5 separate regions of the Homo sapiens genome follow, and all the other regions are linked to region 4. The links are contacts of gene promoters, found by promoter capture Hi-C in blood cells and fetal thymus (Javierre and others, 2016). All regions are on one chromosome and are shown on one strand. The core of a region is centred on a gene start or on the middle of the fragment in contact, and the rest is flanking DNA. Distances in the headings are between cores, read along the strand shown.

Evidence for each region. The method cuts DNA at HindIII sites, captures the fragments that hold promoters and counts their contacts. A CHiCAGO score of 5 or more calls a contact.
Region 1: a contact is called between a fragment that was not itself captured here and the fragment with the promoter of SNHG25 in region 4, in 6 of 17 cell types (naive B cells, total CD8 T cells, total B cells and 3 more). The highest score is 8.9, in naive B cells.
Region 2: a fragment that was not itself captured here is called in contact with the fragment with the promoter of SNHG25 in region 4 in 12 of 17 cell types (naive CD4 T cells, naive CD8 T cells, total B cells and 9 more); the score reaches 12.9 in naive CD4 T cells.
Region 3: a fragment that was not itself captured here is called in contact with the fragment with the promoter of SNHG25 in region 4 in 1 of 17 cell types (total CD8 T cells); the score reaches 5.8 in total CD8 T cells.
Region 5: a fragment that was not itself captured here is called in contact with the fragment with the promoter of SNHG25 in region 4 in 5 of 17 cell types (naive CD4 T cells, naive CD8 T cells, total CD8 T cells and 2 more); the score reaches 7.6 in naive CD4 T cells.

The regions. Positions count from the first base shown.
Region 1 is chr17:63,885,995-63,891,340 of GRCh38, reverse strand. No RefSeq gene overlaps it. Among named protein-coding and RNA genes, the nearest start is that of GH2, 6.7 kb to the right of the region's middle. The HindIII fragment of the contact is 325 bases long and covers 3,629-3,953 here.
Region 2 is chr17:63,854,244-63,859,822 of GRCh38, reverse strand. It overlaps the pseudogene TCAM1P. Among named protein-coding and RNA genes, the nearest start is that of SMARCD2, 14 kb to the right of the region's middle. The HindIII fragment of the contact is 6,211 bases long and covers 1-4,934 here.
Region 3 is chr17:63,815,323-63,820,801 of GRCh38, reverse strand. DDX42 (DEAD-box helicase 42) reads right to left here. Exons shown (of 18, transcript NM_203499.3): 16 at 5,129-5,239; 17 at 3,836-3,934; 18 at 1,485-3,108. The coding sequence ends at 2,404. FTSJ3 (FtsJ RNA 2'-O-methyltransferase 3) reads left to right here. Exons shown (of 21, transcript NM_017647.4): 19 at 364-547; 20 at 629-723; 21 at 808-1,369. The coding sequence ends at 1,000. Among named protein-coding and RNA genes, the nearest start is that of PSMC5, 9.4 kb to the left of the region's middle. RefSeq lists an enhancer at 1-977. The HindIII fragment of the contact is 2,959 bases long and covers 2,558-5,479 here.
Region 4 is chr17:64,144,457-64,150,029 of GRCh38, reverse strand. It overlaps SNHG25 (small nucleolar RNA host gene 25), which reads right to left and starts at 4,060. Exons shown (of 2, transcript NR_132278.1): 1 at 4,030-4,060; 2 at 3,721-3,800. It overlaps SNORD104 (small nucleolar RNA, C/D box 104), which reads right to left and starts at 3,952; the gene lies at 3,873-3,952. SNORA50C (small nucleolar RNA, H/ACA box 50C) reads right to left here and starts at 3,691; the gene lies at 3,559-3,691. TEX2 (testis expressed 2) reads left to right here. Exons shown (of 12, transcript NM_001288732.2): 12 at 939-2,803. The coding sequence ends at 1,061. RefSeq lists enhancers at 3,632-3,841, 3,819-4,373. The HindIII fragment of the contact is 1,672 bases long and covers 3,137-4,808 here.
Region 5 is chr17:63,833,200-63,838,482 of GRCh38, reverse strand. SMARCD2 (SWI/SNF related BAF chromatin remodeling complex subunit D2) reads left to right here. Exons shown (of 13, transcript NM_001098426.2): 2 at 858-1,042; 3 at 1,246-1,288; 4 at 1,439-1,561; 5 at 2,916-3,071; 6 at 3,683-3,778; 7 at 3,908-4,009; 8 at 4,155-4,316; 9 at 4,477-4,574; 10 at 4,761-4,896; 11 at 5,063-5,185. Among named protein-coding and RNA genes, the nearest start is that of SMARCD2, 6.8 kb to the left of the region's middle. RefSeq lists an enhancer at 3,281-3,440. The HindIII fragment of the contact is 2,098 bases long and covers 2,930-5,027 here.

The DNA.
Region 1 (5,346 bases), core at 2,542-5,041, 260 kb after region 4:
CCAACTCGTCCTAGTTTGCAGGAGACTTTCTCAATGTCAACACTGAAAGTCCCACGTTCCTTCCAGGGATCCCTCAGCTGAATGAACACTCAGCTAACAGGACTGGTCACCCTATTAGTAGTCCTAAATCTTAGGGTACCAAACTGTGGGGAAAGTAGGGGAAGGAGCAAGAAAAAGACTAGAAAAACCGGAAAGCTGTGCTCGGTGTATATGACCTTTGATGGCCCTCATGGTTATCATGGATTTCTGATTCTTGCTTTGAGTTTACTGTGATTATAAAGATGTGCTTAATTACCACTAGAATTATCAGTGTAATAATAAAAAACAACTAATGTGAACACATATCTCCAGCACCATGCTAGTTTATTACATGTATTGTGTCATTTCTTTCTAATTATAATTCTCTAAGGTAAATACTATTATTAATCCTATGGTAAGAAGTCCCACTAACGATGTAACTTATGCTTTCTCAGGTCTAGAGAGAAAGACACCAGAATGTCACCCTGACCATCCTTGAGAGGATAAACGGCCAGGCACGGTGGCTCACGCCAGTTATCTCAGCACTTTGGAGGGCTGAGGCGGGAGGACGTCACAAGTTCGAGACAAGCCTGGCCAACATGGTGGCACCCCGTCTCTTACTAAAAATACAAAAATTACCAGGTGTGATGGTGCACACCTGTATTCCCAGCTACTGAGGCGCGAGAATCACTTGAGCCCAGGAGGCAGAGTTGCACTGAGCCCATCATGCCACTGCCCTCCAGCTGGATGGCTGAGCAAGATTCTCTCTCAAAAATAGTAAGAAAGAGGGTAAACTTTTGGAGTATTAAAGGCCACTCTTCCTCTGGAGATAATCAAGGTAGCTGCAATTTAAGCATAAGCTGGTTGCTTTAATGTTCAGAAAGAATATGATCAAAACCATTTAGAGGGTGGGGCCTCCTCTTATAGACAATGAGGCAGCTACCCTTAGAAGCTCTATTATACTGGAAAAGAGATATGAGACCCTTCCTACTTTAAGAATCAATGAAGCCGGGTGTGGTGGCTCACGCCTGTACTCCCAGCATTTTGAGAGGCCAAGCTGGGCAGATCACCTGAGGTCAGGAGTTTGAGACCAGCCTAGCCAACATGATGAAATCCTGTTTCTACTAATAACACAAAAATTAGCCGGGTGTGGTGGCGCACATCTGGAATCCCAGCTACTCCAGAGGCTGAGGCAGGAAAATTGCTTGAAGCTGGGAAGCAGAAGTTGCAGTGAGCCGAGATTGTGCCACTGCACTCCAGCCTGGGAGACAGAGCGAGACTCTGTCTCCAAAAAAAAAAAAAAAGAAAAGAAAAAAAAGAATCAATGAGAAGGGGCTGCCTGCCTGACCACTGGTTGTGTGGATCCTTCGGGAAGGAAAGCGAACAGAGGTTCCAAGTCTACAAGGGAAACAGCCCAGCCTACTCTGAAGAGCTTTGCGGGACGGCTCATCCAAACTACTGAGCTCTAAGAACTGGAACCCTGGAAACCCCAGCAAGAGGACACCCGCAGCTGGACCAGGCCCCGAAGAAGCAGATCATCCTCCCTCAGAGATCCACAGCAGCTGGGAACCCGGATCTGCAGACCCGCTTGGTTTGAGGGTACTGTGTGGGACCATCTGTCAACACTGACACCCTGTGGCAGTGAGAAGCAAAGGCAGCAGCCGGCTAAGCCTCCAGGATCTCCCTGCTGGAACTAGAAAGTCCAAGTGGCCCCCTTCTTCCCTCTTTTTTTTGTTTTGTTTGTTTTGTTTTTTGTTTGTTTGCTTTTGTTTTTGTTTTCTTCAAGATGGGGTGTCACTCTGTTGCCCAGGCTGGAGTGCAATGGTGCAATCTTGGCTCACTGCAACCTCAGTATCCCGGGTTCAAGCGATTCTTCTGCCTCAGCCTCCCCAGTAGCTGGGATTACAGGTGCACACCACCATGCCTGGCTCATTTTTCCCTTCCTTTTTGGATTCGCTGTGCTTCAAGGCACTGAGGCCATGAGGCAGGGTTTGCAGATACAGGGTAACTACAGCCCTGATGCGACTGATCCTGACACCAAAATGGCTGTGGATCCCTGCATGGTGTGGCTGTATACTCCTGTCTCTTAAACCTGCTTCTTAACTTACTTCCCCAAATGCTCAATTCAGGGAAGGTGGATGATTTATATTAGACTCACATGATGAAGGAGCAGTAGCTCCACCTAGTGGAAACATTGAGGTTGAAAAGTTCATGTTCGGGGATGATGCTATTTTACAAAGTCAAGATATTTCGTGTCCCTCCGGGAAGCCTTCCTTGATCCGAGTTATGCTTTCTCTTAACAATCTGTTTTCCCAGTCATAGGAGTTCATGCACAAATGTAATCTCCTACTTGTTTGTCTAGCTTTCCTAATATATTTTTGGAAGCCAGGAACAATGTTTTGTTCACCACTGTATCCCCACTGCCTTGTATGTGGTGAAACCAAAGGGTTACTTTTACACTTAATCTATAGCACCAGACTCAGGGGAGGTCTGGGAAGAATGGGAAAACGTTTTCCCTCTGCTGTCTGATGCCATGGTTTTTTCTAGCTGGTATCTGCAATTTGGAAGGCTATGGACCTCTCTCTATCTGGAAGTCTGACCTTTAGCTTTCATTTTTGTTCCTTTATTTTGCTTTTGAGACAGGGCCTGGCTCCGTTGCCCAGGCTGGAGTGCAGTGCATGATCTCAACTCGCTGCAACCCTCCACCTCCCGTGCTCAAGTGATCCTCCCACCTCAGACTCTCAAGTAGCTGGGACTACATGCATGTGCCACTATACCTGGCTAAGTTTTGTGTTTTTTGTAGAAATGGGGTTTTGCCATGTTGCCCAGGCTATTCGCAAACTCCAGGGCTCAAGTGATTCACCTGCCTCAGCCTCCCAAAGTGCTGGGATTACAGGCGTGAGCCACCACACCAGCCTGAATTTCAGTTTTGAAAGCAGGTCAAATAGGCTGCTGCCCTCAGTTAATGCACCCCCGGCCCTGGGCTGGTTGTTTATGCTATCAACACGGTATTTTTTCCTTAGAAATTGTACTTAAAGTTATAAAATGCAGCCGGGAGTGATGGCTCAGGCCTGTAATCCCAGCACTTTAGAAGGCCGAGGTGGGTAGATCACGAGGTCGGGACTTCAAGATCAGCCTGGCCAAGGTGGTGAAACCCTGTCTCTACTAAAAATACAAAAAATTAGCTGGTCATGGTGGTGGGCGCCTGTAATCCCAGCTACTCTTAATCTATAGAGGCTGAGGCAGAGAATTGCTTCAACCCGGGGGTGGAGTTTGAAGTGGACCGAAATCACACCACTGCACTCCAGCCTAGGCAAAGAGCGAGACTCCATCTAAAAAAAAAAGTTATAAAATGCAGCCATTTGACATAAGAGCTTTTAGCAATGACACAGAAGGGAAGGGAACTGCATTTGGACATCATAAAACCACTTTTATTTTTACCATAGCAACATTCCAGTGAACATTTCTTGACTGATTTGGGAGAAAACATCTGGTTCTGTGATTCCTCACGCCTTCTCCGAGGGTGAATATACTCTTTCTCAAGGACAGGGAAAGAAGCTGAAACATAAAATCATATGAACATTTTCACAAGAAGATTCCTCTTGAAGCTTCAAGGAAATTGTTTACAGACAGAAGAAAATATGCACTTATTGATGAAAAGGGAGAGTAAAGATTGGAACTTTAACCTAGATGCCCATATGGGTAAAAAAAAGAAAACTGGCAAATGCGAACTCACAGTTGATCACTCTATGAAAAGGAATTCAGAGATGTTTGGAGCTCTTAACCTATGAGGCCAATTTCATGGAAGAACTCTACCTTCTCCTTCAGAGACAGAATACTGAGCTAGATAGGATGCCCGTCTGGCCCAAAGTGGAATTTCTTACCATCTGTATACTCCCCCAAGACCCGCAACAGATGGTTACTGAGTTGAAGCTTGCCACTGATCCTTAATGATGTCAACAAGCTCAGCTCTGGGAGCTGGCCCTCCAGAAGCCCAGGTCAGGGGAGCAAGGGAAAGTGGAGATAGGAACAGAGCTCTGATTCCTGGCCCCATATTTGATACTTACTCCCTTCAAAGTCCTGTCCTTGGACTACAGATTTAGTTCCCAGTTAGTAATCAGAAAACCATGAAATATGAGTTGTATTTCTAAGATATGCCTGACTTTAGTATGATGTTTAAGAGAAAAGGGCAGTGAGAACCATGAAGAAACGGCAAGATCTTTTCTTTTTTTTTTTTTGGATCTAAGAGTGGACTGATGATGCACCTGGCAAGGAGCAAGAGGCCTTCTTACAAATCAAACATTGAGACTGAGATTCCTAATGAATAGAGTGAGCTCTAAAGAGAAAGGTGGCTGGGCGCGGTGGCTCACACCTGTAATCCCAGCACTTTGGGAGGCCAAGGTGGCCGGATCACTTGAGGTCAGGAGTTTGAGACCAGCCCAGCCAACATGGTGAAACCCCATCTCTACGAAAAGTACAAAAATTAGACAGGCATGGTGGTGTGCACCTGTAATCCCAGCTGCCAGGGAGGCTGAGGCAAGAGAATCACCTGAACCCGGGAGGCTGCAGTTGCAGTGAGCCAGGATCGCATCATTGCACTCCAGCCTAGGCGACAACAGCAAGACTCCATCTCAAAAAAAAAAAAAAAGAAAAAGAAAAAGAAAAGAAAAGAGAGAGAGAGAGAGAATGGTGAGCTTGTGGACATATTGGACACACAGGACATGGGGCATGGGGGCCTGAAACACCGTTTTACAGGACAGACGTACACAAAGGGGAATGCAGCCTGCCATTGTGTTTCTTCCTTTCTCCTCTATCCCTTCTTCCCTCCCTGGGAAACCACAGTAGCAGAAGTCTCATTCAATCAAACAGTTGTCAATTATATGAGTTGTACTTTTCTCTTCCTGAACAGCAAACTGGCTTTCCTCCTCTTTGTCCTCCTCTTTCTGCCTATAGAGCAATTTCCTCCTGTCCACTTTGCAGGGCCGATAGCTCAAATACAGTGCTATGGTGATGACACCCACTCCAAGGGCAACGGTAATAATGACAAAGAGGGTAGAGCTTATTCCTTCATCCAGTCCTGCCCAAGCACAGAAGATAGAGTTAGGAAAGTCTGAGAGTACAAGGATCACCCACCCCAGCCCACCAGGCCCACTTCTGAGTCTCATTCTTCCCAACCTAGTAGAATCTTTCTTATTTTCATGCTTAGATAAGAATCCCAAACCCCTGAGGGGTTTCCATCCTGGGCCTGGCAGCAGGGCAGCAAAGGTTACCTTGAACAATGACAGCAATGTCTTTGCTGACAGAGCCCAGCTGGTTAGTGGCTGTGCA
Region 2 (5,579 bases), core at 580-3,079, 290 kb after region 4:
ACACATCATGCAGGACCCTTCAAGGTAGGAAGGGAGTGGGGCTAAAATGTCTCTCTTCCGCAGGGTGAGTTTAAAGCTCAAGCAAAGGTGGAGCTCAGTTACTCTCACATCCTCACCCTAAACCCCGTGAGAACTTAGTCCCAAAGGCCAAGGCAAGATGAGCCCCAGGATTCCTCCTGCACTTGAGTTCTGACTCACCAAAGATCCGGACTATTCTGATGGGTGAGCTGCCTTGAAAGAGCCTCCCACCTTGCAAACTCAAGTCCAGTTCTGCATGGCAGGAAGAATTGCATCTGTCATTCTCCTTTTGGGCTCTGACACTGATGATGACTTCAGCTCTTTGGGAGGCCACAGCCAAGCTCGTAAAGTTCTTTCTATGCAGTTCTTGGTTACCCTGGAGAAGGGCAAGGGTGAGACTCTCCAAGGGTGCTACACTGGGTACATGACACTTCACTGTGAAGGCTTCGTCCACAGCCACCCAGGCAGGCTGCAGCTCCAGGATCACTTGCTCTGGTGGCTCTTTAAGACAAAAAGGCAGGACTTGATGAGCATGCCACCCACCTCTCCAGAAAGAAACAGCATAGGACAGAAAGATGAGGTGATACAAATCACAGAAGGTGACTGCCACCCTTAAACCATCTGATCAGCAATGTCAGCTTTCTGCCATCCCTGCCCTAGATGGGGTGAGTTAGTCTTCTGGCTCTTCTTCTTCGCATCAAAAGTGGCTATGGCCATAGCAAAGAAGAGTGACTGCTGAGGGAGAGTCCCTTGCTTTGACTGTTGCTGCCATTCTGGAAAGCATTGATCTCTTACCAGAGGGGCTTCAGAGGCAAGAGCAGCTTCCGGGGGCTCCTTAGCATCACATAAAATCTATACTGTAGCAGGCCAGGTGCAGTGGCTCACGCCTGTAATCCCAGTACTTTGGGAGGCCAAGGCAAGCGGATCACTTGAGGTCAGGAGTTCCAGACCAGCCAGGCCAAGATGGTGAAACCCAGTCTCTACTAAAAATACAAAAATTAGCCAGGTGCGGTGGCAGGTGCCTGTAATCCCAGCTGCTCGGGAGGCTGAGGCAGAGAATTGCTTGAACCCGGGAGGCAGAGGTTGCAGTGAGCCAAGATTGTGCTACTGCACTCCAGCCTGGGCAACAGAGCAAGACTCCATCTCAAAACAAACAAACAAACAAACCAAACTATAGCTAACCAAGTTCTGACCCCATAGAGACCACATTTGCTTTCGTGCCATATCTTTGTCCATGTTATTTGCCCACCTGAAAGGCCTTCCTCACCTGTCCCCTTCAATTCAAACCCTAACTATCCTGGGGGAGGGCAGTGCAGGAGCCTCCTCTACCATGGAGCCTTCTCAGGCTGCCCCAGCTCACAAAAACCCTTCTCTCTCCAATCTCTGTTTATTCCAAGAGCTTGTAGCAAACAATTCAGCATTAATTTCATACTTTTTTTTTTTAAGAGACAGGATCCCACTCTGTTGCCCAGGCTGGAGTGCAGTGGTGTGATCATAGATCACTGCAGGCTTGAACTTCTAGGCTCCGGGGATCCTCCCACCTTAGCCTCCCAAGTAGCTGGGACCACAGGTGCACGCCACTATGCCTGGCTAATTTTAAAAACTTCTTTTGTAGAAACAGAGGTCTCACTGTGTTTCTCAAGCTGGTCTGAAACTCCTGGCCTCAAGTGATCCTCCTGCCTTGGCCTCCCAAAGTGCTGGGATTAAAGCATGAACCACTGTGGCCAGGCTAATCTTATACTTTTTGGTAATTTAACCATAAACATTATTAGCATATGTTTCCTGTATTGAAGATATTTTCAAGCACAGATAATCTGGATGCTCTCTATGGTCTGCTCCTAATTTAAAACTCAGAAGAAAGCCTACATCAAAGGGAAGTAGAAGTGGGCCCGGCTCACTTCTACTTGCTGGACTTGAGGTGGCTCACACCTGTAATCCCAGCACTTTGGGAGGCTGAGGCAGATAGATCACTTCAGGTCAGGAGTTCAAGACCAGCCTGGCCAACATGGTGAAACCCCTGTCTCTACTAAAAAAAATACAAAAATTAGCCAGGCATGGTGGTGGCTGCCTGTAGTCCCAGCTACTGGGGAGGCTGAGGCAGGAGAATTGCTTGAACCCAGGTGGAGGCTGCAGTTAGCTGAGATCACACCACTGCACTCTAGCCTGAGCAATAGAGCAAGATTCCATCTCAAAAAAAAAAAAATAAATGAAAAAGGTGATTGGATCTAGAATCCCTACAGTATGCCAGAAATCTTTATTAAGGGCCTTAATTATCTCCCCTAATTAGAAACATTTGTCCCATCCTTCCCTAAATAAGACATGTTCATGTTTCCCCATTCCTCCTTTCCATCCCCCTGCCCCCAGCCCTCAGCCCTACTCACAATACACAGTGATGCCAAGGCTTGTGTCCTTTTGAATCCCTGCACAAGAGAAGAAGCACTGCAGGATGGAATTCTCTGTGACATCCTCCAGAAGAAACTCTTTCCACTGAGGCCCTTTGCCCACCTGAGTTTTCTTTAAGAAGGTCTCAATTCCACTGGGTCCTGGGTCTGGGCAAGTAGTGCTGCAGTTGACCACTAGGGACTGTCCAAACTCCACCAGGGCCTGACTTGGCCAAATAGAAACCTCAAACAACTCTTCCGGGACCCCTGAAATATGAACCACATCGGCCAGGCGCGGTGGCTCACGCCTGTAATCCCAGCACTTTGGGAGGCCGAGGCGGGCGGATCACAAGGTCAAGAGATCAAGACCATCCTGGCCAACATGATGAAACCCCGTCTCTATTAAAAGTACTAAAATAAGCTGGGTGTAGTGGCGCACGCCTGTAATCCCAGCTACTCGGGAGGCTGAGGCAGGAGAATCGCTTGAACCCAGGAGGCAGAGGTTGCAGTGAGCCGGGATTGTGCCACTGCACTCCAGCCTGGCAACAGAGCAGGACTCCATCTCAAAAAAAAAAAAAAAAAAAAATGAACCACATATGCCAATGACTCTGGTGAGGACCACGAGACCCAAATAAATACAGAACCTATTCTATCTAGTTCCAGGTTAGAGAACAGGAAACCTGCCCTGAAAAAAAAGGTTCAGACAACCAGACAGGACAAAAGACCTGTAATTGGCCGGGCGGGGTGGTTCACGCCTGTAATCCTCCCCACTTTGGGAGGCCAAGGTGGGCGGATCACCCGAGGTTGGAAGTTAGAGACCAGCCTGACCAATATGGAGAAACCCCGTCTCTACTAAAAATACAAAATTAGCCAGGCATGGTGATGCGTGCCTGTAATCCCAGCTACTCAGGAGGCTGAGGCAGAGAATCACTTGAACCCAGGAGGCAGAGGTTGCAGTGAGTTGAGATTGTGCCATTGCACTCCATCCTGGGCAACAAGAGTGAAACTCCGTCTCAAACAAACAAACAAAAAAAAACTGTAGTTAACAAGTTAGCTCTGATTTCACCACTATTCCCTCCACCTATCATCTTTCTTGAGAACTTGAATTCTCTATTAGTATCACCATGGAAATTATGGAGTTGCTAAAAAAAATTATGCCCAGGAAACCAATATCTTCCTAAACTTTCAGAATTCTTGAAAGCTCCCCATAATAGGCTGCTGTGGACCCTCACAGGATTCGAACTTCATTACTTATCCCTGAAAGCAGTGTCTCTCTCAAATTATGGCTAAGGATTCCCTTTGCCAGAATCATCCTAAATGCTTGTAAACTGCAGACTCCAACTCCACCTCAGAGCGCATGGTTTCAAACCTGTGAAGGTGGGACCTGAAAATATGCTAAGGAATAAAACAAGCCTCCCGGGGACCCTTATGCACACCAAATTCTCAGATCCATTGGCCTGCAGGTAACTCCCAGGGTCACTCATTTTCCATGCCTCTTCTTTATGCCTCTTCTCAGAGTGAGACCATTCCATTTTGATTTGGCGCTAAGGGAATGGATGTTTTGGATGCTTACAAATTTCGTCTGTTCTGGAAATCTTCTCTGATGCAATGGGAGATGTCAGATGGATTTTTATTTTATTTTACTTTATTTTATTTTATTTTTGAGACAGAGTTTCACTCTTTTTGCCCAGGCTGGAGTGCAATGGCACGATCTCGGCTCACTGCAACCTCCGCCTCCCATGTTCAAGTGATTCTCCTGCCTCAGCCTCCCAAGTAGCTGGGATTACAGGTGCATGCCACCACGCCCGGCTAATTTTAGTAGAGACGGGGTTTCACCATGTTGGTCAGGCTGGTCTCGAACTCGTGACTTTGGGTGATCCGCCTGCCTCAGCCTCCCAAAGTGCTGGGATTATAGGCATGAGCCACTGTGCCTGGCCAAGCCACCACGCCTGGCCTCGGATGGATTTTAGATGCCTGATGTAGGTAAAGGGCACGGAGACTTCAGGAAGTCCTGAAGGCTTCTCTACAGGTCCTCTTTAGCTAGTCCATATCTACCATCTACTTCACCTCCCAATACCAGTCCCCTCTGGGAATACACAGCTCTTGTAGCAATGTTACCTGCTAAGGCCCCTGTTCCTTTCCCGTCATCAGGAGAACTCACTTTCTGTACCTGAGCTATGTATGGGTCCTGTCCTACCAAGAGCCTATTATAGTTCATCATGACACAAACGGTGGCAACAAAGAAGTAAAAACATTCTCAAGAGGAGAAACACAGGGCAGTCCTGGGGCAGAAGGGAACCAAGCGGAGAAGGCATGTTTCCTAGGGAGAGTCCTCTCTGATAGTCTATTAACTAGTGTTATCCCAAATACAAGCCAGAGACCGTAACGATTCTGTGTCCTAGTGATCCAAGAGACAGGAATCTTTCCCCCGGGTCCAGATGAATGAACACTGAAGTGTCACCCCACTCAGGACTCCCCACCCCCTTCCTCACTGACCAGCTACCTGTGTCCTGACACATACTGGTTTAAAAAGCTTTCCCGAATAGCCTCACCTGGGCAAAGGATCAAGGCCAGCAGGGTCCAGACACCAAACAGAAGCGTTTTCATCCTGATAAGAAGGGCCAAAGGCTGGAGAGAAAAAGACAGCAATGCTGGAGAAAGTGACCAAAAATATATATATAAGGAAAATTGCTTATTTGATATTAAAACTCAGTCCCTTTTTCTGAAACCTCACTAGTCTAGAAAAATTACAGCAAAAACATCAGCAGTGAAGGTGTACTAAAAGAATGTCTTATATCTATTTATTTCAGTTTAGCTTATGTGCATAGCAAAAACATGGGGGAAAATATGAAAAAGGATGAGGCGATATTATCAAGATTCCTGTATAAGTTGTATTCTACTTACCTTTTTACTAGTTTGCCTCCATCTATTAGACTGAGTCAATAGAAGGGTGCTGGCATGGAAACATGAAAAACTGAGTTTAGACTGGGCACGGTGGCTCATACTTGTAATCCCAGCACTTTGGGAGGCTGAGGCGGGTGGATCACCTGAGGTAGGAGTTTCAGGCCAGCCTGGCCAACATGGTGAAACCCCGTCTCTACTAAAAAAATACAAAATTAGTCGGGCGTGGTGGTGGGTGCCTATAATCCCAGCTACTCGGGAGGCTGAGGCGGGAGAATC
Region 3 (5,479 bases), core at 2,788-5,287, 330 kb after region 4:
TCTGGTGGGTAAATGGGTAATTTTTTGTTTTTGAGATGGAGTCTCGCTCTGTTGCCCAGGCTGGAGTGCAATGGCACGATCTTGGCTCACTGCAGCCTGATTCTCCTTGAATCGCTTGAGTCAGCCTTCTGAGTAGCTGGGATTACAGGTGCCAACCACCACGCCCAGCTAATTTTTGTATTTTTAGTAGAGATGGGGTTTCACCATGTTGGCCAGGCTGGTCAAACTCCTGACCTCAGGTGATCTGCCCACCTCAGCCTCCCAAAGTGCAGGGATTACAGGCGTGAGCCACCGTGCCCAGTCTGGTAATTTCTTTAGAAAGCCTGGAATGTTGGATATTAGACAGATGTCCTTTCCACTCAGGTACACATTTAATGAGGATGAGGGGGAGCTTCCGGAGTGGTTTGTGCAAGAGGAAAAGCAGCACCGGATACGACAGTTGCCTGTTGGTAAGAAGGAGGTGGAGCATTACCGGAAACGCTGGCGGGAAATCAATGCACGTCCCATCAAGAAGGTGGCTGAGGCTAAGGCTAGAAAGAAAAGGAGGGTAAGTGATGGGGCCTCCAGAGATTGGGTGGGGTGGGGGTGGGGGGATGGGGAAGAGGTCACCTGACAGGTTCCTTTGCAGATGCTGAAGAGGCTGGAGCAGACCAGGAAGAAGGCAGAAGCCGTGGTGAACACAGTGGACATCTCAGAACGAGAGAAAGTGGCACAGCTGCGAAGGTAATGGGAGGACACCACAAAGGTACACAGGGCTAAAAGTGCAGCAGAAAGCAAGCCTCTAACCTCTTCTCTTCCCCCCTGTAGTCTCTACAAGAAGGCTGGGCTTGGCAAGGAGAAACGCCATGTCACCTACGTTGTAGCCAAAAAAGGTGTGGGCCGCAAAGTGCGCCGGCCAGCTGGAGTCAGAGGTCATTTCAAGGTGGTGGACTCAAGGATGAAGAAGGACCAAAGAGCACAGCAACGTAAGGAACAAAAGAAAAAACACAAACGGAAGTAAGCAGAGCTGCCAGGCTCCCAGGAGAGCATGGGGACTAGGAGGAAGGGTGTGGCATGGCTCAGTCTGGCCCCCTTGATTACCGGCCTAGCCCCTGCTCACATCACAGCTGTCTGAAGAACAGTGAGGTGGAGTGCCTAGAACTCCCGTGGTGGTCCTGAGCAGAGAGGAGGATGTCCTCCTGCCTGCCTGAAGGTCTCCCATGAAAACACTGCTGAACTGTGTTGACACTCATGACCCTTTTTTTAAACCGTTAAAGGGAAGTTCGGTGTTGGAGCGATACTCAATGTAGTCAGTCTACACCTGGACGTGTGGGCCACTTAAGCCCTCCCCACCCCCATCCTATTCCTGAATAAAACCAGGATAATGGAAGAGTTGTCTTTTCTGACAGTTTTAATAAGCACTTCCCTATCTGTCCCTACACTGTGTGCGGCACTATTCTTAATATGTACCAATTCATAGACAGAAATGACAAACGATCCACAGGTCCCGGTAGTAAAACATTTACTAGAGAGCAAGCAGAAAGGAATGCACATCTTAAAGAAACCTTCACAAAGTCACAAAAGTCAAAGTTTGTATATTTCTTTTCCTTTTTATAAACGATAAACAAAAATCATCAAAATCATTTCAGCAAAAGACTTTTCTATCATTGGGGCAAGTTAAAAAAAATACAATGAGATAGAAGACACTTTAAAAGCTGTTGTTGGGTTTCTTGTTTAATTTTAAATTTAGCAATACCATCTCAAACCTGGAGCAATCCTGGAACAGTTACCAGGATCACCTTTTCCCTTCAATCCTTGTGGCTTCTGGGAATCTTCAGAGCCTGGGTCTGAAAGGTGTTTCCTACATGTCTCAGGGCTGGATGCAAACCTGGCTGGGGACCTGAGCATCAACTCCCATTTAGAATCAGACATCTCCCTTCCCTGCAAATGTCTACAACTACCAAATTGCTCCCCAACAGTTAGCTCAATGGATTGAATTTGCAGAAGCCAACTCCTAAAATGGGGACTGCCTGGCCATACAACTAAGAAAAAGAAGTCAATTTATAGATGCTTATAAGGTGACACCTTAGTAAAAAATATAAGCTACATACAATATAAACCTAGAGTGAGTTTTGTGCCCTAGAAGACCCTTTATCCCAAGATAACCTCAACTTACCCACATGACAACTCACCTAGAGCCAAAAGAAGCTTCCCAGCTCTCACTGCTTCCAAGGACCAAAACAGCTTCCCAAGAAAACATCCGAAAATTCCTTCTGATGAAGGGGTAATGTCTCCAAGCTCCAGCTCTCCACTAAGGGCAGGGGGTCCTTACACTTTGGACCCCAACCCAGCCCTGAGACACCTAGTTACCAAAATCTTTCTAAAAATTAAGGACAACTGATTTCACGCTTTAGCACATCCCCTCTAACTGTCCCATCGACTTTTCTTGCGTTTAGGCGGCTCTGGGACAGCAAAGCCGTCAGCTGTCTTATCTGTCTTGCTGTCCACCTTGTCCATCTTGCTGCTGTCCACTTTGGGTTCCATCTTGGGCTCCATCTTGCTCTCACGATTAAAAGCTTCTTTCCTGCTTTCCCCATTCCGACCATCATTTGCACCCCGGTTCTCCCCATGCCGGCCTGCGCTTCCTCCATGTCTGTTCTCCCCGTGCCGATGGCCATCAGTATGACGGCTGCTGCTTTCTGGATGGCGGTATCCATCTCCATGGCGACCACCATCTCCGTGACGTGGACTATCGCTATGCCGATTGCCAGTCTCTCCGTGACTGTGACGGCTGCTGCCCCGGTTCTCAGTATATCTCTCTCTTTTCCCGTTGCTGCCCCCAGTCCCTTCTCGGCTGTTATTCCCTGAAGCTGTGTTGTTGACTCCTTGGGCTCCGGCAGACGGGTAGGTCACAGGGGCACCACTGATGTTGCCAGTATTGCCAAAGCCTGGGATGCCCTTGGCGGCACTGGTGACGGGGCTGTCAGGACTGTTATGGCCCTGTTGTGCTGAGTTAGTTGGAACAGAATTCAAGCTCCCTGCACTAGTCCACCCACTTGCCCCAGCAGCAGAACTTCCAGCCTTCTGATTACTTAAACTGGCTGCAACAAAGTGACTCTTGTACTGTGACTGAAAGAGAAAGAGACATCAGGAGTAGGTAAGATAGCAAGTTCAAGAAACTTGAATATACAACTTGGCAAATGATGAGGTTTACAGAAACTCTGTGCTATCCTGGCACTGTGAGTTTAGTGTCCTGATGGCCCCACAGTATGGTCCCTTTTGTTCTTGTGCTATAAAGGAAAACTTGTGGATCTCTGTGGAGAGATGGACCCCCAGTGTTCTGAAATGTACTTTTATAGCCTGATTGGCTAGAATAAAGCATCTATGTATTTAGCACATTTATCTGCATTCAAAACCAAAAAGTTCTGAAAACTTAAAAAAAATTTTCATACTGCAATTTAAGTTTGACAGCAAAACCTGCCTTGAACTCATTCTATCGATTCACCTTAGTGTGACTATCAGTAAATTTTGCTTCAGAAGTGAGTTGGAGGTGGGTGCCTGGGAGGTGGGCAACACTTCAGGCTGTTGGGAAGGGAGGGAACACACACCCTGCTGCAGGACAACAATCCCAGGCCCCAAGTGTGACTCAAAGTAGACCAGCACAAGGGGTTCTCTAGATCAACTTGCATTTCCAACTAAGCTACTGTTAGGTTTATATTCAAAATCCAAGCAGCGTGAAGACCCTAAATCTAGCATCAAGCCTAGGCGCCCAGCTACAACCAGGAAAACTAAGCCCCTCTGTCACTGCCCAAGAGTTACTGCTGAAAGTGCTTTTAATGAAATGCTTATTTCAGACCTGGAAAGCTGCTTTCATTGCCGTTAGTCGATCTCCCATAGCTCCTGTGGAAGGCTTGTAGGCCTCATAATTGCTCATTACATTGTTATTTCCTCGATCCTAAAAAAATAAACACATCTATGAGAATGAAAAAATAAGCAGGAAAGCTCACTGCTATAGACTAGGCCTCATTATGAAAACCCTTGAAGTGGGAGCTACAAAGGAACTGGATACTTTTAGAAAGCTGCTACTGCTTTGTGAGAAAAGACACAGTGACAATCATTTAAAAATGCTTATGCCCTCAACCCAGAAATTCTATTTCTGGAAATTAACCCTATTAAACAGAAATGCAATCAGATTATGCCCAAAGTTGATCATGTATTTACATAAACACTTCCAATTAATTAAGTAAAAATTACGTTAAAGATGAAAAGGCCCTGAATAGCATATTGTGTGACTGCTCAGGCCCTGAATCAAGACCATGAAGGGTCTGAATTTCGGCTTGAACACTTGTCACTGTAACCTTAGGTGCCTCAGCATTGTTATCTGTACTAACTTCCATTCAGTTATTTTGAAGATTAACTGAGCCAAAACATCTGATTGCTTGGAATGGTCCTGGCACATATAAAGTGCTCAATAAATATTACCTATTATTATGCATCATCATCATTATTATTATAATGTGGGAACAGAGTATGTAATTACAAAGATGCCAAGTTTAATGCTCCAGAAAAGTATACTGGCAGCTTTCTTCCCTGGCTTGGAATCAAGGTGACAGAAAACAGGCAGTTAAGAAAGGCCACCAAAAGGGTACATTTGTTACCTGGTTTGTGAGAAAAACTAGCTCCCGACTTGGAAATTCCTGATCCGTTCCTGAGTTTAATGACAAGATATGGCTAGACTTTACAGTGACCCTTTGGCAACATTTACCTAGCAGCAGGCTTTAGGCCAGTGTTGAAGGGCTTATAAAACCAGACTGCTGGGCCCCAACTCCAGAGTTTCTGATTCACAAGGTCTGGGGTTGGGGATGAGTTTGCATGTGCTGCTGGTCCAGGGACCACAGTGTGAGATCACTGCTAATCTAGAATAATTTCCTGAGCAAGCCTAGTCAACCAAGTACACAAAGATGCTTCTTCAATAGAAAGTTACCATAAGAATGAGCACTGCATTGACTCAAATCAGATTAAATACAAATTCCCTTCTAGACAGGGCTTTAAACTCACTGAGGCTTTCCTGGGTAGATGAGAATATTCCTAATGACTTTCAGGACATGAGACCAACTATAAAGGCACTACTGTAGTAGTCTAGACTCACCATGTTCTCAGAGCCCAGGCCAGGCCGCTCCCTGTAGCCTAGGCCTCCTCCACCAATGTTCAGCTTTTTTCCTTTCCCTCCTTTGAATCGAGATTTCCGAAACCAGGCATTCTGCATTGAACAAAATTCAAGGTTAAGTCAAGGGAGGGAGAAAAGAACAGAAGAAGAGAACGAGGACAAAGAGGAAATTAAGTGGGAAGGGGGAACTTTTGCTTAATTTTCAGCCAGCACTACGCTAAGGGAGGAATTTTCACAGGAACCACAGATTGGTTTCTCTTTGGTAGCATAATCCACCAAATTTGAAAAGTGGCTGAGATCCTTATCTAAGGCTTCCTACAGTGCTCCCTCCCT
Region 4 (5,573 bases), core at 2,811-5,310:
GAAAAAGCTTAATGTCATCACCAAATAGAAAAGTACTTTGAACCTACTGAGGGGAAAGAACATCATGCCTTTTATTTTTCCCTTTTTCTTTCTTTTTTTTTTTTTTTTTTTTAAGACAGAGTCTTGCTGTGTCGCCCAGGCTGGAGTGCAATGGCGCCATCTCGGCTCACTGCAAACTCCGTCCCCCAGGTTCACACCATTCTCATGCCTCAGCCTCCCGAGTAGCTGGGACTACAGGCACCCGCCACCACACCCAGCTAATTTTTTGTATTTTTAGTAGAGATGGGGGTTTCACTGTATTAGCCAGGATGGTCTCGATCTCCTAACCTCGTGATCTGCCCACCTCGGCCTCCCAAAGTGCTGGGATTACAGGTGTGAGCTACCATGCCTGGCCTAATTTTTTGGTATTTTTAGTTGAGACAGGGTTTCACCATGTTGGCCAGGCTGGTCTTGAACTCTGGACCTCAGATGATCTGCCTGCCTTGGCCTCCCAAAGTACTGGGATTACAGGCGTGAACCATCGCACCTGGCCATTAGCTTACATTTTATCGCTAGGATTTATTAATAAAAGGATAATTCACATGGAATATGTGTTCTAGACATAGTAACTGGGAACTACTGTGAACAGCTTAAGCCAATTCTCTTAAATTGTTGGATATATATCAGTGCATATGGGCAACCTTATTATATGTATACAAAATCAAAGGCCACTTCTGCCTCCGAGCTGATATATTAGAGGATTCTCGTATCCATGCGCTGGTATGATTCCTCAACTCTTTCTAAAGTATGTATGGTGGGAGAATTAGTTTGGAATGCATAGCAAGTTTTTATATGTACTTTTAAAAATCAGTCTAAGCCCTAAAATTATCAGAACAAAGGAGGGTGACAGCCTGGCAAGGCATTCTTCCACATAGCTGTTCTTTAATATCTTCCTACAGAAAGTTTTTGTCATGCCAAACATGGATGATGTTTATATCACTATAATGCACTCAGCCATGGACCCTCGCTCTACTTCCTGCCTCCTGAAAGACCCACCTGTGGAGGCTGCTGATCAGCCATGATGGGTGATGTCAGATGTTCCCCATATTGTGACATCGAGCTGGATGTGTGGGGTTCTTGGCCGCCATCTGTACTGTAGCACTGGCCTCTGTGCCACAGCTACTGTTTCTTAAAGGACTGCTTCTGCCCTCTGCCTGCCAGTGCCCATTCCACTGTGAGGTGTCATTCCCTGCATCTAGTGACAACTGTCTGGATTGCCTGCTGCAAAGCTTTGATTTGGCAAAGGAGACCATGGAAGAATCATGGTGGATCCAGAAGTTATACGTGACCCACACCATGGCTTTTAAAAGTCTACCCATGTTTGTGGCAGCAAATGAGCACAGTAAGAGCAAAGCTGAACAACTTGCCTCCTCTACTCCTCCAAAGCTTTTCTTCAGGCAGCCGGTGCACAGTGGACTTTTTCACTTCTATACTTTGTATGCGGCCTTCCACACTTCCAGAGAATGTCAGTGTGCAATGTGTCTGGAGGGTGGGGAGAGGAATTCTGTGAGCCTTTTCATTTCGGTGACAGAAGAGATGGGCAGAGCAACTTATTTTCCACATTAAATTGTGCATTTGGGAAGCAAGTAGCCATAGTACACACACAACACGCTATCAGCTTGGGTAAGGACAGTGGGATTTATGTGAACATCAGGCAAAGCCATGAGATCAAACCATCCCAAGCCTTTCACCAATGAGGTACAACCACCTGGGGGCTAGCTAATCTTGAATGTTTTCCTGAGACAGGAGCGTATGTGAAAACATCAAACACTGCACATGACAGGATGGGTCCTCTCATACAGATGGGATGGGGTTAGAAAGCCAGAGCCAGTTTTTCCATCTGGCGTTTCCTGTGTCCTCCAGGTTTATATGGGAATCGAAACAGTTTGTTAATCTGATTGGGAGAGTTCCATGGGCAGATTTCCCTTCCTGAAGGCCAAAACGGAGAACTGCTCTCTTTAATTATTTCAAGAGTCAAGACCAAAAGTTTGCTCAGCATCACACTACATCTCAAAATTAATGTTGCCAACTTAATTTTGTGCATTTGTGTCAGAATGTTTAGTTTACAAGGTTGGGGGCTCTCTTTGCTTCGAGAAGTAAACCTAATACCATTTTTTTATTGTTTAAAGCTGCATTCAACGTCAAAATTACCTTGGGTAACTTTTGATAACTTACATGTGTGGACAAAGCTAATAGTGGTTTTTTAAACAGCACCTTGCCTGAACATGACTTTAAAGAAATTAATATATTGAAAACATGTTTGAACCCTTATTTTAATTGCACCATTAAAACATTTGACTTAAATTGTTTGACCATTCCAGTTGGTGTACTGTTCTGATTTTTCGTTGTGTAGGCCGATCTGCCTGTCAGAGTCCACGTGTCCTGGTCACTGGTCTTTATAATTGTTGTGCAATAACTAAAGGCTAAGGACTAGATGCACTATCGTGTAAAGAGATTACACATGACTGTACCATGTTGCACTTAATCAAATAGTATGTGGGGATTTAAAATCGCTTGCATTGTTTCACAAAATAAATATCTCAATGTCAAATACTAGATAAGCATCTAAGTCATTTCTACGGAATCCTGTTCAGATAGGGGCACAATAAAATGAGTACAGAGCACCGGGGCCCTCACCTGGCAATCGCAGCTTTCATTTACTGCGTTGATCACTGCCCAGTCCTAAGGCTACAAAGCCATCCTCACTACATCCTTCAAACTATGTGCCATTATCTTCAGCCCACATTTAAAGAATCCAGTGAAAGTTCGTAACTGAGGGGGTAGGGCAGTGGTGCTCCTGGGCTGCAGTTTACACCCTTCATTGTCTAGTATAATGTTAATTCGGGACACCTTCATTCATCGAATGTCCATGTAGTGAACGCATACGTGCATCCTTGCCCACCATTGCTGCCCTGTACTCAGAACTGATGCACCTTTCACTGGAGCCCTTGTGGAAGATCTTTTACCAATCACTGAATCTGGACTGTGTAACTAGGTGTCTATGTTGTCCCCAACCATATATAAAATCTAATTCACCTTCACAACCGCCCTATAATTTTGAACTGTTTAGGAGTGACAGATTAACCTGCCCAAAGCTTTAGTCCCATGCTTGTCAGTACTCCTGCATGGTTATTTGTAAACAGGTCGATTACCCTTTAGTCAGGAGTTAACTCAATGCAGTTCCACACCGAATCTGTTTATGTCAAGTACACAACAGCCCTGCAGACGCCATTCCACGCTGCCTTCAACTAAATCTGCGCGTCTGATGGCAGACGCGACAGCCTGGGACTTATGTCGAACTCACGGCGAAGGCACAGCGCGCGCGATACACTCAGGGAAGGCTGGGCTGGGGAACGTATGGGAGCAGAGGGGCACTCCTTACGCATCAAGAGTCCGCGTATCCCCGTCAGCCACCGCCCCCCTAACACGCCATTCCAGCCTTGGTATTACGGATTGAGGCCTGTCGTGGCAAAACAGCTGGAAAATTGCCCAGCCTAGCAGCCGGACAGTCAGGTTACTTCTTGTCGCTCGCGGTTAAAAAGGCCGCCCGCGGGAGGCCAGGCGGCCCCAGTTATGCGCAAGCACATGCTCTAGCGCTGCAGATTGACCCCCGGCGCCACGAGGAAGCTCGGCGGGGGCTCAAAGACAGCGCGTCGCCAACGACACACACCGACACCAGGGTTGGGTTCAAACCACTTTATTGACGGGAATGGGGTGGCAAAGCAGCAAGGACGATGACATCCGACGTCCTCGGCTGGGAGCTACAAGAACGAGAGTGATAGATCAGCGGGTGTGCGCGCGCCCGCCCGCCAGCCCCCTCCCAGCTCCGCTCGGGCAGGCTCAGACTCCAGTTCGCATCACCCGCGTCAGCAGTCTAACACGTGCTTTAATTGGAATGTCATCACAGCAGGCCGGCCCCCCTACGCCTCCCTGCTCCCGAGCCACGACCTCCGGGGCCCACCCAGCCAGACGACCCGCCAGGAATACAACCTGACCTCCCGGAACCTGCAGGCGCTGAAAGACAGGGGAGCGTCGATGGCGTTCTTTTAAAGGAGCAGACCAGCGCTGATGGGCGGGCTTTACTGCCATTAACCAATAGCAAGTTCACCTTGCGACCACGTGCGCGTAAAGTTGTCTGGTGACTGGTAGTCCTTGCTGAGTCCTCCAGAGGATAGATGGGTCACATACCAACCATAGAGATGGGAGTCGCTCAGTCTCAAATCCATTTGCGTTTCAGCGACTCCACCGCCAGCTGGTAATGAGCGCATCTCTCCGCAGTACGCAAAAGAAAACTTCACCAAGAGCAGGCGACGATGATGCCTAACTTGGATGACATGTTCTGTGCCAGGAGCTAGGATAGGAGTTGAGAATGGAAAGTTAAAAACTGTCCCCAAGTGCAAAATAACCTGTCGTGGTAGAAAGAGCTTGTATTGAAAATGGACCGATCTGCACCACATCCTGACTTTGTGATGCGTTCGCTCTGTGACCTTGCTCAGTTAACCTTTCTGAGATTCAGTTTCTGGAAATTAGGAATACCCCCCCGCCGCCCCCCCCCAACACACACACACCGCGAAAAAAAAAAATTGTAAGGATTCGGTGAATTAATGCCAATTGCCTGGCACATTCTAAGTGGTAAACAAAGGTATTTAAAGGGCAGAGTGATGTGAAAAACTTCCTGGGATTGCAAAACTTTAATAAATACTAACATAGCGCTATGAACAGCCTACTGTAGAAGCCCAAAGGACAGAAAGCCTGACTTTGGGAAAGCTTCGCAGAGTTGATTGAGCCTGTTCCCCGGACATACAGGTGGATGAATGATAGTTTGCTTAACTGGGGGAGGACACAGTACACCAGCAGTCACAGTCGCCGGTTATCTTTATTGCCTCCCTGTTTTCCTTGGGAATTCTTTTCCTTTTTTTCCTCTTAATACGGAAAATTTATTGTTTTGTGTGTGTGTGTGTATGTGACAGTGAAATCATTTCACCCTATGGGTTTGTAGTTGAATGGGCTCTTATTTTCCTTATTTTCTATATAGACTTTAAATTCAAAAAATTCCTCTTTGGCCGGGCGCGGTGGCTCACGCCTGTAATCCCAGCACTCTGGGAGACGGAGGCGGATGGATCAGGTCAGGAGTTCAAGAACAGCCTGGCCAACATGGCGAAACCCTGTCTCTACTAAAAATACAAAAATTAGCCGGGCGTGGTGGCAGGCCCCTGTAATCCCAGCTACTCAGGAGGTTGAGGCAGGAGAATCGCTTGAACCCGGGAGGCGGAGGTTGCAATGAGCTGAGATCGCGCCATTACACTCTAACCTGAGCAACAGAGCGAGACTCCATCTCAAAAAAAAAAAAAAAAACCTCTTTAATCCAAAGCAATAATGACTTTGACAAGTGTTTAGTAGTCTCTATTTATTTTTGTTGCTGTTTTAACTTTCGTTATCTCAACATTTATTACATTATGGTACAGTTTCCGCATTGGGCAATGTATGAAAGTTTTCTTTGTGACCTAAAATATCAGTTTTTATAAGTGTTCCAC
Region 5 (5,283 bases), core at 2,729-5,228, 310 kb after region 4:
GGGCTACACGGAGCCAGAGCCAGTCCTGGCTGCCAGGTGGTGCCTGGACCACTGGCAGAGTCCAGGTGCTAGCTGCTCTCTTTCCCACAGGCCACCCAGGAGCCATAGCTTCCCTTCTGGGGTCTTCTGTCATAGGGGTAGTAGTTGGGCAGTAGGGAGGTAAGAGGAGGGTCCAGTTCTGGGCTGTGGGTGGGGGCTATGTGATACCAGACTACAGGGTACAGGGTCCCTGTACCCTGCCCGAGGCCACCCCCACCAGCTGGTACACGTTCCAAGCCATCCTGTTGCAGCCCTGCTCACCTGGGGTGCTGCTGCCTACCAGACCCCTTTCTCCCTCGGCCACAGAGGATGGGGATTGGGGCTCTGCGCCATTGGCCTACTCATACTATAGTACACTCCTCTGCCTGGCAGTGACACTGCCCCTGTGCCTCTCAGCCATGCTTCTTCTTCATGATGGGAGAAAGAGAAGGAGGGCAGGGCTTGGCAGGACTGTCTGAGAGAATAGGGACCAGCTTGCCCAGGGAATAGGGCACAGCATGCTGGGGCTGGAAGGTAGCAATGGGCCCTGAAAAGCTCCCCAAGGCCCTTCCCTCTGCAGGCAGGACCCTCCTCCCAGCCCAGGTTCTGGCAGGCCTCATTCGCTGGCATGGCTGCCAGGGCGGTTGCAGGGGGCAGGGCAGGTGTGGTTTACACTCTGTGCTCAGGCGCCCACTCCCCTTTGTTCCTGGGGCTCCAGCAGGGCTCTGGTGTGCTGCTCAGGCCCTACCTGGCTGACGAGAGGGATGGAGGGCATGGGCTATGGGTCCCGGAGGGCCTTGCCCCTGACCTATGCACCCCCGTTGGCTCACTTCCCCCAGCGACCTGGCATGTCACCAGGGAACCGGATGCCCATGGCTGGCTTGCAGGTGGGACCCCCTGCTGGCTCCCCATTTGGTGCAGCAGCTCCGCTTCGACCTGGCATGCCACCCACCATGATGGATCCATTCCGAAAACGCCTGCTTGTGCCCCAGGCGCAGCCTCCCATGCCTGCCCAGCGCCGGGGGTAAGAGCATCCTGCTTCTCTCACTCTGCCTAACTCAGCTCTGGTGGTAGCAGAGGGTTTCCTTCTATCTTAAGAGCTTTGGTGACTGAGGATGACTCCAGGCTCTCCTGGGGGAGAGGGTCCTGGAGACTGGAGGGGCGTTATGGGAGTGAGTGTCCTTTTTTGGACCATTGACCTCTTAAGTGGGTTTCTGTCCTCCCCAGGTTAAAGAGGAGGAAGATGGCAGATAAGGTTCTACCTCAGCGAGTAAGTGTTAAGAGGACACCTGGGAGGCCTGCCCAGTGGCCACCTTGGGGTGGGTGTCCATCTCTCTCAAAGCTGGGCTGCAGCAGGAAGGGAGGAAAGAGCCAGGCTTTGGCTGAAGCAAGCTGATGAGCTTCTGCTACCTTCCTTCAGATCCGGGAGCTTGTTCCAGAGTCTCAGGCGTACATGGATCTCTTGGCTTTTGAGCGGAAGCTGGACCAGACCATTGCTCGCAAGCGGATGGAGATCCAGGAGGCCATCAAAAAGCCTCTGACAGTATGTGTGGCCCTGACCACCTCTAGCCTTCCCAGGTTTCCTTGCCTTCCACCCCCTTGTTTTCCAGGGGCCAAGCAAGTTGGGCTAGAGCCGGGTTTTTCACATGCAGGATGCAGCCCACTAGTAGAGTACGAACTCAGTTGAATGTGTTGGGGCCAGTATGTTTTAAATGAATATATGACAGTAGAAAATCTTAAAATACTTCACAGTAGTACTTACCATAGTAGTAAATGGATTCTTTCATGACATTTTTGTTTCTGATAAATAGATATGCAGACCTTGGGTCATAATTGAAAATGTAAATCTTATGGGTGGTGGTCAAAAGTTTGAAAACCACTAGACTAGGGGATAAAGGTAGTTCCTTTCTCCTTCCCCTTCCCCATCCATAGAGAAATTTTCTTTTTTTTTTTTTTTTTTTTTTCTGAGATGGAGTCTCGCTCTTTCACCTAAGCTGGAGTGCAGTGTTGCGATCTCGGCTCACTGCAACCTTCGCATCCCAGGTTCAAGTAATTCTTCTTGCCTCAGCCTCCCGAGTAACTAGGATTACAGATGCCTGTCACCACGCCCGGCTAATTTTTGTATTTTTAGTATCGCCATGTTACCCAGGCTGGTCTCGAACTCCTGACTGCCTCGGCCTCCCAAAGTGCTGAGATTACAGGCGTGAGCCACTGCACCCAGCCGAGAAGCTTTTCTTAATAATAATGTAGAACAGTCCCGAGTGGTGAAGCCTTTCCAGGGGACTAGGATATTTTGGAGCCGTGATGGGTGTTTGGGTTTCATGTAAGATGTGAGCCAGAGACTGGCTGCGTGTTACTCCATCATGCCGTAGCACCAGTCCCACTGTGCTGGCATTGTTGGTGATGCATCTCTTTCCCCATAAAATGGTGAGTTCCGGCCAGGTGCGGTGGCTCACACCTGTAATCTCAGCACTTTAGGAGGCCGAAGTGGGCAGATCACCTGAGGTCAGGAGTTTGAGACCAGCATGGCCAACATGTTGAAATACCATCTTTACAAAAACACAAAAAATTAGCTGGGCATGGTGGTGCGCACCTGTAGTCCCAGCTACATGGGAGACTGAGGCAAGAGAATCGCTTGAACCTGGGAGTCAGAGGTTGCAAGTGAGCTGAGATCGCGCCACTGCACTCCAGCCTGGGTGACAGAGTGAGACCATGTCTAAAAAAAAAAAAGGCTGGGACTGGGACTTACTACTTCTGATTCCCAGTACCTGACAAGGTGCCTGGCTGGCTCATGGTGCTCAGTACTGATTGTTGAATGGTTCATATGAGAAGATGCGGTAGCACTGTGTCCCAGCATCTTGGTCCACCTCCAGTTGTGATTGCCTTTCTCTCTTTAGCAAAAGCGAAAGCTTCGGATCTACATTTCCAATACGTTCAGTCCCAGCAAGGCGGAAGGCGATAGTGCAGGAACTGCAGGGACCCCTGGGGGAACCCCAGCAGGGGACAAGGTGGCTTCCTGGGAACTCCGAGTGGAAGGAAAACTGCTGGATGATGTGAGTTGGGGAGGGAGGTTCTGGAGGGAAGGAGGCCTGTGTGGGTTTAAGACTGAGACCAAGGAGTTTGATACTAGCCTGAGCAGCAGAGCCAGACCCCATCTCTACAAAAAATTTAAAAATTAGCTGGGTGCGGTGGCATGCACCTGTAGTCCCAGCTACTCATAAGGCTGATGCAGGAGGATGGCTTGAGCCCAGGAGGTCGAGCTTCAGTGAGTTATGATCACACCACTGCACTTCAGCCTGGGTGACAGAGTGAGATTGTGTCTCAGAAAAAAAAAGACTGGGCCAGACACTTGGGCGCTCCCAGAGAAGTCCTGCCATAGGGAGGGGGGCGCTGCTCCAAGCCCGTTGGAGGTTGATTTGTGTGGTTATTACAGTGTTCCTGCAGATGGCAGTCGAGTGTCTCGAGGAAGTCCCTCGTGGGCTGCAAGAGGGCACCATTTCCCTGCCTCCAGTCTGCCCAGAGTCCTGCTTCCATCCTTCAGGGCCCAGGAATCTTCAGTATCCGGAGCTCCAGGGCTGAAATGGGGCTTCTCTTTCTTGGGATTTAGCATAGCTTGAGATTTGAGAGCTCAGCAGCACCATCTCACACCCCTTTCCATCCCCAGCCTAGCAAACAGAAGAGGAAGTTTTCTTCATTCTTTAAGAGCCTCGTCATTGAGCTGGACAAGGAGCTGTACGGGCCTGACAATCACCTGGTGGAGGTGAGAGTGGGCCTGGGGCAAAAGCAGGCTGATGTGCAGGTTTGGCAGGGAAATGGCCTCAGGGCCCTTGGGAGGCCCTGTGTTCACGCCCACCCCCTTGGTGATAAGCCATGCTTCCCTCCCTGCCAGTGGCACCGGATGCCCACCACCCAGGAGACAGATGGCTTCCAAGTAAAACGGCCTGGAGACCTCAACGTCAAGTGCACCCTCCTGCTCATGCTGGATCATCAGGTGACAGAGACCCTGGGGTCATTTCTGGGCCCACAGGGACCCCTCAGGAGGGGAGCTGGTTCCTAGAAACCCTTCCTGTCCCTGCCCTATTTTCCCACTGTTCTACTATAAGAACCCGTTCTGACTCCCCTCCATCCAACTCCAGCCTCCCCAGTACAAATTGGACCCCCGATTGGCAAGGCTGCTGGGAGTGCACACGCAGACGAGGGCCGCCATCATGCAGGCCCTGTGGCTTTACATCAAGCACAACCAGCTGCAGGATGGGCACGAGCGGGAGTACATCAACTGCAACCGTTACTTCCGCCAGGTTAGCCAGATGCCAGCCCCCGTTTTCTCAGCCCTTGCTTTGCCTTGCCTGCTGGGCTACTCCTTGGCCACAGCCTGCAGACTGCTGCCCTCACTGGTCCTGGAATGGTCCACTCCACTGTGCCCACAAGCCAACGCTGAGCCTTTCGTATTTCCTCCAGATCTTCAGTTGTGGCCGACTCCGTTTCTCCGAGATTCCCATGAAGCTGGCAGGGTTGCTGCAGCATCCAGACCCCATTGTCATCAACCATGTCATTAGGTAAATGCAAGGAGGGGGACAGGAAGGCTCTTCTAAGAGCAGATTCACCCTTGGCTTGAACTAAAGCCAAAGAAAGCATCAGGTTTCTTTTTCCCTGAGTGTGTGCAGAGAATGGGCCCCAGATTTGGCCCAGGTGGGCAGGATGAAGTCAGCTATGTGCCTTCCCTCCCCATGTGCTGCCTGCAGTGTCGACCCTAACGACCAGAAGAAGACAGCCTGTTACGACATCGATGTGGAGGTGGACGACCCACTGAAGGCCCAAATGAGCAATTTTCTGGCCTCTACCACCAATCAGCAGGAGATCGCCTCCCTTGATGTCAAGGTGGGCCCTCTGGCTCCACAGCTTCCTCTGGGGCCCAGGATTGGGGTGGGCTGGCTCTGTCCAGCATTTCCATACATGTAGCACCTGGAGGACGGGATGGGAACTCTGGCTCAGTTGCTTGCATGTAAGCTTTGGGGGCACAGTCTGACACAGGTACCCTCTCCAGATCCATGAGACCATTGAGTCCATCAACCAGCTGAAGACCCAGAGAGATTTCATGCTCAGTTTTAGCACCGACCCCCAGGACTTCATCCAGGAATGGCTCCGTTCCCAGCGCCGAGACCTCAAGGTGTAGTCCTCTTTCCCGAGGGGACTCCTATGTAAAGCTCTGGGTGATTTTTACCCACAGCAGTTCCCAGGGTGGATTAGCCCAGGGGTGGGGATTAT